2 separate regions of the Homo sapiens genome follow, and region 1 is linked to region 2. Evidence: promoter capture Hi-C in human tissues and cell types (Jung and others, 2019). All regions are on one chromosome and are shown on one strand. The core of a region is centred on a gene start or on the middle of the fragment in contact, and the rest is flanking DNA. Distances in the headings are between cores, read along the strand shown.

The links. Contacts are between HindIII fragments. The study calls those that stand out against the background at their distance.
Region 1: a contact is called between a fragment that was not itself captured here and the fragment with the promoter of KIF4B in region 2, in 4 of the 25 tissues and cell types used here (heart right ventricle, mesendoderm cells, spleen and 1 more).

What each region holds. Positions count from the first base shown.
Region 1 is chr5:155,051,325-155,057,154 of GRCh38, reverse strand. No RefSeq gene overlaps it. Among named protein-coding and RNA genes, the nearest start is that of KIF4B, 40 kb to the right of the region's middle. The HindIII fragment of the contact is 6,048 bases long and covers 1,186-5,830 here.
Region 2 is chr5:155,009,399-155,015,010 of GRCh38, reverse strand. It overlaps KIF4B (kinesin family member 4B), which reads right to left and starts at 1,256. Exons shown (of 1, transcript NM_001099293.3): 1 at 1-1,256. The coding sequence starts at 1,151. The HindIII fragment of the contact is 20,564 bases long and covers 1-5,612 here.

The sequences.
Region 1 (5,830 bases), core at 2,960-5,459, 39 kb before region 2:
GCTCCATCTTCCTCTTTGATGTATGAGGCTATAAAACAGGGAGTGAGCAAGTCACCTTCGAAGAGGCCTTTCGTCACTGCAATAACTAGAAGTAATTTATGGGCTCCTGGAATCGTGCGTTCTCTGTTTCTGACTCGGCAAGAGACTGAAATCACAATCTGGATGCTGGCAGTCAATTGGAAGGTCAAAAAGACTCTGAAAGGTATCAGCCTTCTAGAATCTAGGATGAAGAAACATCAGTGTCCACATTCAGTGATGAGATCATCAGCAAAGGTTTTAGACAGAGGCTACCTTTTAGGTATTGGGATTTAATTCACCTTTGTGGGGGTGTCCTAGAACAGCCTGCTCTATCCTGGCCACCATCCAAGTCCTCCCCTCCTTCAGGGCCCAGTTTAACTCCTGCTTCTACTAGGAAGCCCTCCCTGCCTACCCTAGCCTATGATATGTATTATGTGCTCTGACTTTACAATTCTTTTGGCACTTGTCACATTCTCCCTTGATATACATTCTTTATGTTTGCACATCTAGAATCTATACATCAGGTTTCTGTAGCAATAGGTTTCATCTCATGAGCTGACTCTGATCAATTAGTAGTGGCTTGCTAGAGTGCTATGACAAGAATTCTACAGCTGTAGGCTGGACGTAGTGGTTCATGCCCATAATCCCAGCAATTTGGGAGGCCAAGCGGGGAGGATTGCTTGAGTCCAGGAGTTTGAGACCAGCCTAGGCAACATAATGAGACCCGGTTTCTACAAAGTACAAATAAAAAAATTAGCCAGGGCCGGGCATGGTGGCTCATGCCTGTAATCCTAGCACTTTGGGAGGCTGAGGCGGGTGGATTATCTGAGGTCAGGATTATCAGATTATCTGAGCCTGGCCAACATGGCGAAACCCCGTCTCTACTAAATATACAAAAATTAGCCAGGAGTGATGGCAGGTACCTATAATCCCAGCTATTCGGGAGGCTGAGGCAGGAGAATCACTTGAAGCCAGGGGGGCAGAGGTTGCAGTGAGCCAAGATCGCACCACTTCACTCCAGCCTGGGCGAAAGAGCAAACCTCTGTCTCAAAAAAAAAAAAAAAAAAAAAAAAATTAGCCAGGCATGGTGGTGCATGACTATAGTCGCAGCTACTCAGGAGGCTGATGTAGGAGGATTGCTCGAGCCCAGAAGGTCAAGGCTGCAGTGAGAGGTTGGGCGACAGAATTAGACCTATCTCAAAACTAAAAATAAAAATAAAAAATTCTGCAGCTCTGCAGCTATATCTGAGTTCAACAGTTAAAAGTGCAGTGACTGACCAGCAAGTTCTGAGATGGGCATGCGAGGTAAAAAAAGGACGTGAAAGGCATGTGTTTGCCTTCTATATGCTGTAAGCACTAAGTTATTTGAAAATAGGGTCCATCACTTACACTTACTTTTATTCCTATGAACATTTACATAAGCATTCTCAAAAAGTATTTGAATGCTCAAAATTTATTTGATAAGTAAACATCTCCCTTTGCAAAAATGACCTAACTCTAATGCATCATGTGTTCTAATTATGATTCGTTCAAACAGTCCTTAACACACCTACGTGTAGAGCTGACTCCCATCAGAAATTTTTCAAAGCTAGTTTTATGTGAGAAATGGCTTTTGACACATTTGGCACTTTAACGTTTCTGAATCTTAAAACATCCGTGCTTAATAACTCCTTGTCTGCAGTTAGCAGTGATTTTCAGAATTTTTGTATCTATTACCTCATTTGACTACTATGTGACCTTCAAGAGGTAAAATGTTATCCCTGTTGTACAGATTTGAAACCACTTGTTCAGAGTAGCAGAATAATAGGTCAGGACCAAAGGAGGTAACCCCACAAACATTTACCAGTTCTGCATAAAGTAAAATAAGCTGTTACAGTTTAGGCCGGTGTTTCCCGAAGTTTTTTTCCACAGAACATTAGGATGTCAATAGGGCCACTGCATGTGTTTTTGTGGTCAAATAAGTTTGGAAAACATTAACAGGTTTCCCTACAGTAGGACGTCTCAGAGCTCTTACGACACTAACGTACTTGGTGAACTCTATAGAGGCCCCACAACGTGGGCCCATATAAATATTCCCCCAAAGGTTCTGTAGAACACAGGTAATTTTTTTCTAAAGTTAGCAGCAGGGGTACCAGAAGAATGGCAGAGTGGTTAAGAGCCTAGGCTCTAAAATTCAACTGGTATCGAGCTCTGGCCCCAACACTTACTGGTTTTGTGGCTATGAATAAGTCACAGAATCCCCAGCCTCGCTCCCTCCCCTGTAACATGCAGATTCAAACGGCCACTCCTGGGGTTGTCGTGAGGATTAAGTGAGACAAGGCAAGTAGAGTGTCTAGCTGATCGTAAGCACTCAATAAATGTTAGCTGGTATTTCTGCCAATGAGGAAGAAAGTCAGAGTGGGATCTAAAAATAAAATAAAATGCACAGGTTGGGCTGAGAAGCCCATTCTGAGTTTATTACATAGGAGATTTACTGATGAGTGCTCTTGGGTCAACACCTATGGAAGGGAGGGGACAGAAGAGACAGAAAATGAAGCTGTGATCCAGCTCAATGACAGCCAACCCCACAAAGAGGTGTAGAGCTAGATTAGCCCTTCAGAATTGTCCTTGGTTGGGCTGAGAAGGCCAGCTCTTTACAACCCCACATGGATGAGTCGATGGATATTGGACACCCCAGGAAAGGCTGACCTTGGGCGAGACAGCTCTCTGCAACTTAGGCAATTCCTCAAGGGGCTACCACCATTCTCAGAAGCCAGGACAATAAGTCTCTTACCCAAGGAGAGTCTGAACAGTGCAGACGTACAATGTCCTGCACTGCAGCAGTGCATACTGCTTCCACCACACCAAAAAAAAAAAAAAAAAGCAAAAGCTTCCTCCGACCCTCTGGGAAGGAAACAGGGCAGTCTGCAGACAGCAACCAAATCTAGTCATTTATTCATTCATCATTTATTAATGCCTACCATATGCCAGGCCCTGAGGCTTGGGGCTTATGAATCAGGTACTGATTCTATAGCAATTGTAATAGAAATGTTTTCTCTTTACTCTTTAAGGCATGAAAATACAGATAGGGAAACAGAGAAGGAAGAGATATCAAATCACTAGAAGACAGGATATATTCTCAGGTGATCAGTCACCTGTCATCCCAGTATGAAAAGTTGCTAATTTGAATGACGAAAGGAACACAGCATTTTTTTTCCCCACAGCAATACATCAAGTTGTTCTCTCAATGACTTAGTGTGCTTGGCAAACTGTGTACGCTGCACAAAATTGAATTCCCAGGTTTAGGGAAGCCTGAGCAGGCTCGAGGTACATGAGGATTTATTGCTTTAAGTACTTAAAATGCCTCCCACTAAATTTGCTGTGACCTTCTCCCCCTGCCTATGGCCCCAAGTTAACCACAGCCTAGGACTGAGCAAAGGTTAACAACACACCAAATAAAACAAATCAGCCCCAAGGAGACAGGTCCCTGCTTCACAGAGGCAATAGAGCCAAGTCCTTCTTGTCCCTGGAAGGGTTGGCTGCATTCCTCTCTCTTCCACGTCATTCCTCAGTGCCTGCCCGCCCTCCATCCTCTTCTCCTCTTGTCACTTAACATATTCTTCAGAGTGGCCCCCCAAGCACTGTTTTCCTGTAGCAGAACTCTTGTTTTTCCCACTGATCTTCTCATTTGTTTGTGTTGTTGGGGATCAGGACACAGCACCCCAAAACATGACCAGAATATATCAACCCAAAATATGCCTGTGTAACATAAGGATTATTGTGAACTGATTATTTGTGGGGAAAGCAGGCATAGGAGAAGTTCTGCAAACAAGAGAAGTTGTCCTTTTTTAAGAGAAATTTGCATCTATAAAGGAGATCTCTATTTTAAGGGTATCTCCCTCTCTGCCCCAGGAAGAGAGAGATTACTAAATCACTAGATTCTCTTATCAATGGGGAAGGTGTCACTTAAGTCTGTATAACAAACCTTGCCCTTGTTAACAGTGCTTTTCCTGCCCTTTCCCATACCTTTCTTTTTTTGTTGGGGGGCCAGCAGGTGAGTGGGGAGGTATGATGGTATTTAAGCCTGAACCCTCAGACAATTCTTTGAGATCTACTCTTGAGATTTTGCTCTGAGATGTCCCTGAATATCTCCCCTGTACAGAGGAGGTATACATGTTATTAGACTTCTCTTCATTTTACTCTTGTTTATCTGTCTTTTGTTACAGGGAATCCCAACTAAGAACAATGGAAGGTAGAAAGAAAATTATTTTTCCTCCCCTACAAGATCTTGTCAAGACGCCAACAAACTACTCTGCTTCTAATGTTTCACATTTGCATAGCACACTACAATTTACAACCTGCTTCTGGGCCTCACAACTGGCCAAGAGGCAGGCACTGCAGAAATGACTATCTCCACTCCGGAAGTGAGGGCCCTGAGAGGCAAAGTGACTTGCCCAAGGTCACAGAGCAAAAAGGCAGGACTTAAGCCAGGCCCTCTGTGCCACAAACTAGACCCACGCACTGCCTGTCAGCCAAAGAGACTAAGTCACATATTGGCAGTGTACCTTACACTTAGTAGGACAATTGATCAAGGTCACAGACTTGGAAAGAAATTGCCCGGGGATCCACAGTGTGGATATCCAGCTTCCCAGAGGGGATGCTTGTCTACATTTATGTGCAAATATCCAACTTGAGCACACCTGCAGAATCCAAGGTTTCTTCTTCCTCTTTGTATTACTACCAAGCCAAAGAAACAAATTAAAATTTGGAAAAAAACAACAGACATTTTTAGCTTCACTGTCCCAGGTGCTAATGGAAAAACAAGACTCTCTTAAAAAAAATCAATTAAAAAAAAAAATCTTTGAGACAAGGTCTTGCTGTGTCACCCAGGCTGGAGTACAGTGGCACGATCATGACTGTGCAACCTCAACCTCCTGGCACGAGCAATCCTCCTGCCTCAGCCTCCCGAGTAGCAGGATTACAGGCATGCACCACCACACCCAGCTACATTTTGTATTTTTTGTAGAGATGGGGTTTCACCATGTTGCCCAGGGTGGTATTGAGCTCCTGAGCTCAAGCGATCCACCCACCTCAGCAACCCAAGGTGCTAGGATTACAGGCGTGAGCCATCATGCCCAGCCTCTGTAAAATATGTCAAAGAGGTTTATTCTGAACCAATATGAGTGACATGGCCCAGGGAACACACTCTCAAGAGGTCCTGAGAAAGCGTGCCCATAGCAATTGGATTACGGTTTGGTTTTATACACTTTAGATAGGCAGAAGTTATAGGTAAAGACACAAATCAATAAATGAAAGGTATACCTTGGTTCAGCCTAGAAAAGTGGGATATCCTGAAGGGGAGGCAGGGTTATAGGTTGTATGTGGATTCAGAGATTCTTTAATTTGCAATTGGTTAAAGGAGTAAAACTTTGTCTAAAAATTTGAAGTCAACAAAAAGGAACGTTTTAGGTTATAATAAGGAAGTCTACTAACCAACATACTGAGTCAGAGAGACCTGTAGGAGTGTGTGACTTAACCATTGTCTGGATGGCCTTAGATCCTGATTATAATTTGGTATCTTATTGTCACAAAGAGTCCATTTTATTAGCCTTAGGATTAATGCTGGCTGGGCGCGGTGGCTCACACCTATAATCCGAGCACTTTGGGAGGCCGAATTGGGCGGATCACCTGAGGTCGGGAGTTCGAGACCAGCCTGACCAACATGAAGAAACCCGTCTCTACTAAAAATACAAAATTAGCCGGGCGTGATGGCGCATGCCTATAATCCCAGCTACTTGGGAGGCTGAGGCAGGAGAGTCACTTGAACCTGGGA
Region 2 (5,612 bases), core at 7-2,506:
TTCTCTGATGGTTCTGCATTTATAGATCCAGGCAGGGTACCTCCATGGGCTTGTAGCAACAAGACTTGTAGCTGTTGTACCTGTTGCTTTAGATGATTAAGTTCAGCTGTGTGGGGATCAATATTAACAATAGGTTTGTTCTTGATTTTTCTTGCTCTGTCAGCATAGCGAAGGGTACTTAATGTTTCCTCTAGATTGGAGTCAGCAGGACTCACACAGGCTATCATAAGAGTGTGGCTGTTACCTCCTAGAGAATCTTGCAGCAGTCGAGTTAACTTGGAATCTCTGTAGGGCACAAAGCTACCCTTTTTGTCATCTCCAAGAGCACTGATTACATTTCCCAAGCATAGGAGGCCTCGGTTAATATTAATACCCTCTTTTAGACGATCCCCTTCAGCCTTGGTTTTCTTCTGTCTTTCTGATCCAGCGAGATCTACAAGATGCAGCTTGGAGCGAAAGCTGCAATTCTTGTCACTTTTCTTTCTTTGCTCTATGGAGATTGTAAAGATGGCATGAGATCGGGACGACTGGGAGTTCATAGCTGTGGAGGCCACAGTCCTAGAGTTGTTGCCCTGCTCCAAACAGGAAACAGTATCCAAGGCAACTAAAACAGTCTTCTCAGTGAGTCCCACAATCTTTATGCCTTCCTTAGGATCCTCCCGTATATTTATTTGAGCTTTCTCACGAGATGGGCATAGAAGATCCAAAATTTCTTCATTGTAAATCTCTAAGTAAGACACTTTCAGAGTAAATTCAAAGTCACTCTTTTTATCAATTTCTTTGAAGAGCAGTTGTATTACCCTAGGAATAATGCCAACTGTTGGTTCATTCTCCTGCTCCGCAGTGTATGCACCTCCCATTGAATAGGTTTTTCCAGAGCCAGTCTGCCCATAGGCCAGGACCGTTGCATTATATCCTTTAAATATGCCTTTTATGAGCGGCGCTACTGCTTTATTGAAGACTTCTTCCTGCTCAGTACAGGGGTCAAACACAAAATCGTAGGTGAAGGATTTATCAGTACCAACCACCACCTGAGTCTCCCCGGGCACGAAGGAAAGGCACATCTGGCAGCCCTCGCTAATCTCTTTGGGGACCAGAGGGCGACAACGCAGTGCCACTCTTACAGGAATTCCCTTCACCTCTTCCTTCATGATCCTATCTCAGCACCGTCTCAAACTAAATGTCCCTTCCCCGTTCACCCGGGGTCTCCCGCCGCCCTGTCCCAGCCGGAGCTTTAACCGCCAAGTTTCAAATCCCTCCCAGAGACACCAACCAATTGCAGTGCAGGCGGCCCGAGGGCGGAGCGCGCACGTCCGCGCGCGCAGGCCAGCACGGTGGGAAGGGGAGGGTAAATCGAGAAATTTCTTTTTAACCAACAACAGAAAAATGTCCTGGAACTAATAAGTGAGTATAGTATAAACTTAAAGGATACAAGGTTAATACACAAAAGTAAATTGGTTTCCTATATACCAACAGTGAATAAGTGATATTCAGAATTGAAAGCACAATACCACTTACATTAGCACTTAAAAAATGAAATAGGTATAAACCTAACAGAATATGTATGAGATCTACGTGATGAAAACTACAAAACTCTGATGAACAAGATCAAAGGGGAACTAAATAAATGGAGAGATATTTTATGTTCATGGATAAGAAGACTGAATATCGTAAAGATGTCAGTTCTTCCCAAACTGATCTATCCATTCAATGCAATTCAAATCAAAATCCCAGCAAGTTGTTTTATAGATATTGACAAACTGACTCTAAAGTTTATATAGAGAGGAAAAAAAAAATACAATGGCAAACATAATATTGAAGGAGAAGAACAAAGTCATAAGACTGACACTACCCAACTTCAAGACTTACTATAAAACTACAGTAATCAAGACAATGTGGTATTGGCAAAAGAATAGACAAATAGGCCAATGTATTAGAGTAGAGAGACCATTTAGATACAGTGAATAGACCCACATAATATAGTTAAATGATCTTTGACAAAGAAGCAAAGGCAATACAATGAAACAAAGATAGTTTTTTCAACAAATGGAACAAATGGTGCTGGAACAACTGGACTTCTGCATGTTAAAAAAAAAAAAAAAAAATCAGACCTTACAGCCTTCACAAAAATTCACTCAAAAGGATCATAGTCCTAACTGTAAAATGCAAAACTATTAAACTCCTAGAAAATAACATAGGAGAAAACCTAGATGAATTCAGGTGTGAGATGACTTTTTAGATATAACACCAAAGGCACAATCCATGAAATAAATCATTAATAAGTTTCATTAAAATCGAAAACTTCTGCTCTTCAAACAAAACTGTCAAGAGAATAAGAAGAGAAGCCATAGACTGAGAGAAAATATTTGCAAAAGACACATCTGATAAAGGAATATTATCCAAAATATACAAATAACTCTTAAAATGCAACAATAAGTGAACGAACGACCTGATTTTAAAATGGGCCAAAGGCTTTAGCAGACACCTCACAAAAGAAAATATAAACATGGCAAAAAGCACATGAAAAGATGCTCCACATCATATTTGGTCAGGAAAATGTAAATTAAAACAATAAGATACTACTACACACCTACTAGAATGGCCAAAATCTGGAACACTGACAACATCAAATGCTGACAAGGATGTACAATGCTAAGAGTGAACCCTAATGTAAACTATTGGCTTTGAATGATAATGATGTGTCAGTGTATGTTCATTAATTATAACAAATGTACCGTTCTGGTGCTGGATGTTGATAACATGTCTGGGGGAAGGAGGCATGTGGGAAATCTCTGTACTTTCCTCTTAATTTTGCTGTGAATCTAAAACTGATCTAAAAAATGTTGTCTTTTTACAAAAAAAAAAAGTTGAGCAAAAGATGCAAGACAAAAGAGCAAAAACTGTACAGTTCCATTCACATGAAATTCTAAAACAAGAAAAAAATAAACTGTGGTCATATGAAATAGAAGTCAGAAAGTGGTTGCTGGGGGAATGGGGGGCAGGGGAGGATTGACTAGAAAGTGACATAAGGGGTGCCCTTTGGGTGTGATGAAAATGTTTTAGGTCCTGTTTTGGATGATGGATGCTCAAGTTATATATTCGTGGAAACTTATCAAATTGAATATTTAATCTGTACATTTTAAGATCTTAATTGTATCTCCGTTAAAAATAAGGTGGCTTTAAAAATTGATCTCCTCTACCGATTCAAAAATGTACATACACACATTCTTCCTCTAATTTCAGTGTGTTCCCAGACCTCAGAGGTTCACAGAATTCAGATTAAGAACTCCTGGACTAAATGACTTCTAAGGGCTTTCCAATATCTCACATTCTCTAAAGGAAAAAGAGTTCTGGAATCACAATGCAATTACAGAGTCAGCAGGGAAAAATGATTACCCCAAATTCCATTTACTCATATTTCACCTACAGCCTAAAGCAAGAAACACACACATCTTTCTTGGAAGTTAACTGCAAAGGTCAGTGTCTTCATTCTGGCCTGGTGGAGTGGAGGTGGAAGCCAGGGAACTCATCATAAACAACAGCATGGACTGGAGAAGGCTGCTAGCTGGAGGAGATATGTCATGAGGAAGAAGCCCTAGTTTGGAGCCTTGGCTTTACCACCAACAAACTGAAGGACCTAGAGGGAATCTGGGAATCAATCAGTCCAACTGTGTCTTTTTTTTTTTTTTTACTTTTTTTTTTGGTTTTTTGAAACAGGGTCTGACTTTGTCACTCAGGCTGGAGTGCGGTGGCATGAACATGGCTCACTGCAGGCTCTACCTCCTGGGCTCAAGTGATCATCCATCCCATCTCAGCCTCCCAAGTACCTGGGACTACAGGTGCATGTCACCACGCCTGGCTAATTTTTGTTCAATTGTTTGTTTTTGGCAGAGATGGGCTTGCACCATGTTGCCCAGGCTGGTCCCAAACTCCTGAACTTAAGGGATCCTCCCACCTCAACCTCCCAAAGTACTGGGATTACATGTATGCACACCACACCCAGCCAACTGTGTCATTCCAAAGAGGAGCACATTGAGTCCTAGCGAAGGAGACTGAGTGGCTCAGCAAGTTTCTAGCAGACCATAGATTAGAACCCTCCCTTATCAAACCCAATTGTTTTGGACCCTGTTGCCTTGTTTGCCCAGTCACTATTTTCTAAGAATTTCTTCTTCTTCTCATTATGCATAGGGTTATAGAAGTTGCTATATTTCTTCAGTGTAACCCACCTTATCTGGCCTATGGTTTACAGATCCAGATGTGAGTATCTGACTCAGGTTATGCCAATCTGTCTTTTCCAGAGAGAGAGCAAGAAAGATGACAGAGAGCGAGAGAGAGAGAGAGAGAGGAAGAAGAGAGAAGGGAGGAGGAGGATAGAAGTAGGCCAAGAGAAAAAAGATTCCATCTCCTATTAGATGCTTACACTACCCATACAAACTATGGAGCCGTCAGCAATGGCCAGTATCTGCCCCATGTCTAGGAAATCTGTAAATCAGACGTGCCCAGAAACTAGAGCTGCTGGTCAGCTTCCAGATTATTTCTATAAAGCTGCTGAGAGTTCAGAGATAATTCAAGAGGTGCTTAGTCCAGAGGCCATAAAAAAGCTGTGGGAGAAATTAAACCTAATGGTGGCAACTAAGATTGAGAGTTGGCATATGAACTAAAAAGGAGTATCTCTGAAGCTGAGATTCCTTATTCTAAGGAAAGGATGTGTGAAAAGATGTGACTATTTATCATACAGTTACTTATATTAGCAAAAAATTGAAAATTGCCTAAATGTCCAAAATAAAAGTGTTAAATGTGATTTAGCCCTGTGATAAAACATTATATAAACATTAAATATCCTGTCCTAGAAGAATACTTAATGATTTGGCCATTGCTTTCCATATAATGTTAAGTATAAATAGAATACAAACTATATAAAACATAATAATTCCAATTTTGTAAAAGCATAGCAACTTATTTATATTTACATGCATAGAAAAAAAGCCCGGAAGAAGAAAACATGCTAACAGATGTTATCTTTGGTAAATCAGATTTGGTTTTGTTCCAACTGGTCTCTGGTTACCTAACAGAATTAAGGACAGGGAAAAGCAACTTATTCTACTTCTACCCAATCCACCCAATTAAATTAAATACCCTAAATGCCACATTTCTTAAAGGGGAAAAGGGACGTATCTATTGGAGTTGTAGACGAAGAGGAAAAATGGCACCAACTCCATGTCTTTCTAAATGTTGTACTATTGGCCCCAGGCAGGGTGTTTTCAGAATCCTAAGCATCACTCTTGAGATAATGTGGCAAGCAGCAGTTGCAAGGTAATCACCCCTCATGACTCCAGTTTGTTTTGCCACTGGGTTCCTGCCAAAGATGCTTGTTCCGGAGAAACCAAAGTGGTCAAGGTGGCTCTCAATGTGCCACCTGATGAAATGGATGTGACCTATAGCATCCCAGCTTGTCACCTGGGCTTTGTTTTCTCATAGTACCCATCTTGTTTTTATCATCGGTGGTCTCTGACACAAAATTGTCTTTAGAGAAACAAGGGCATGGTATTCACTGAATATTTACTCATAAGTAGGGGTAATAATAAAAATATGTAACAACCTGATCAGCACAT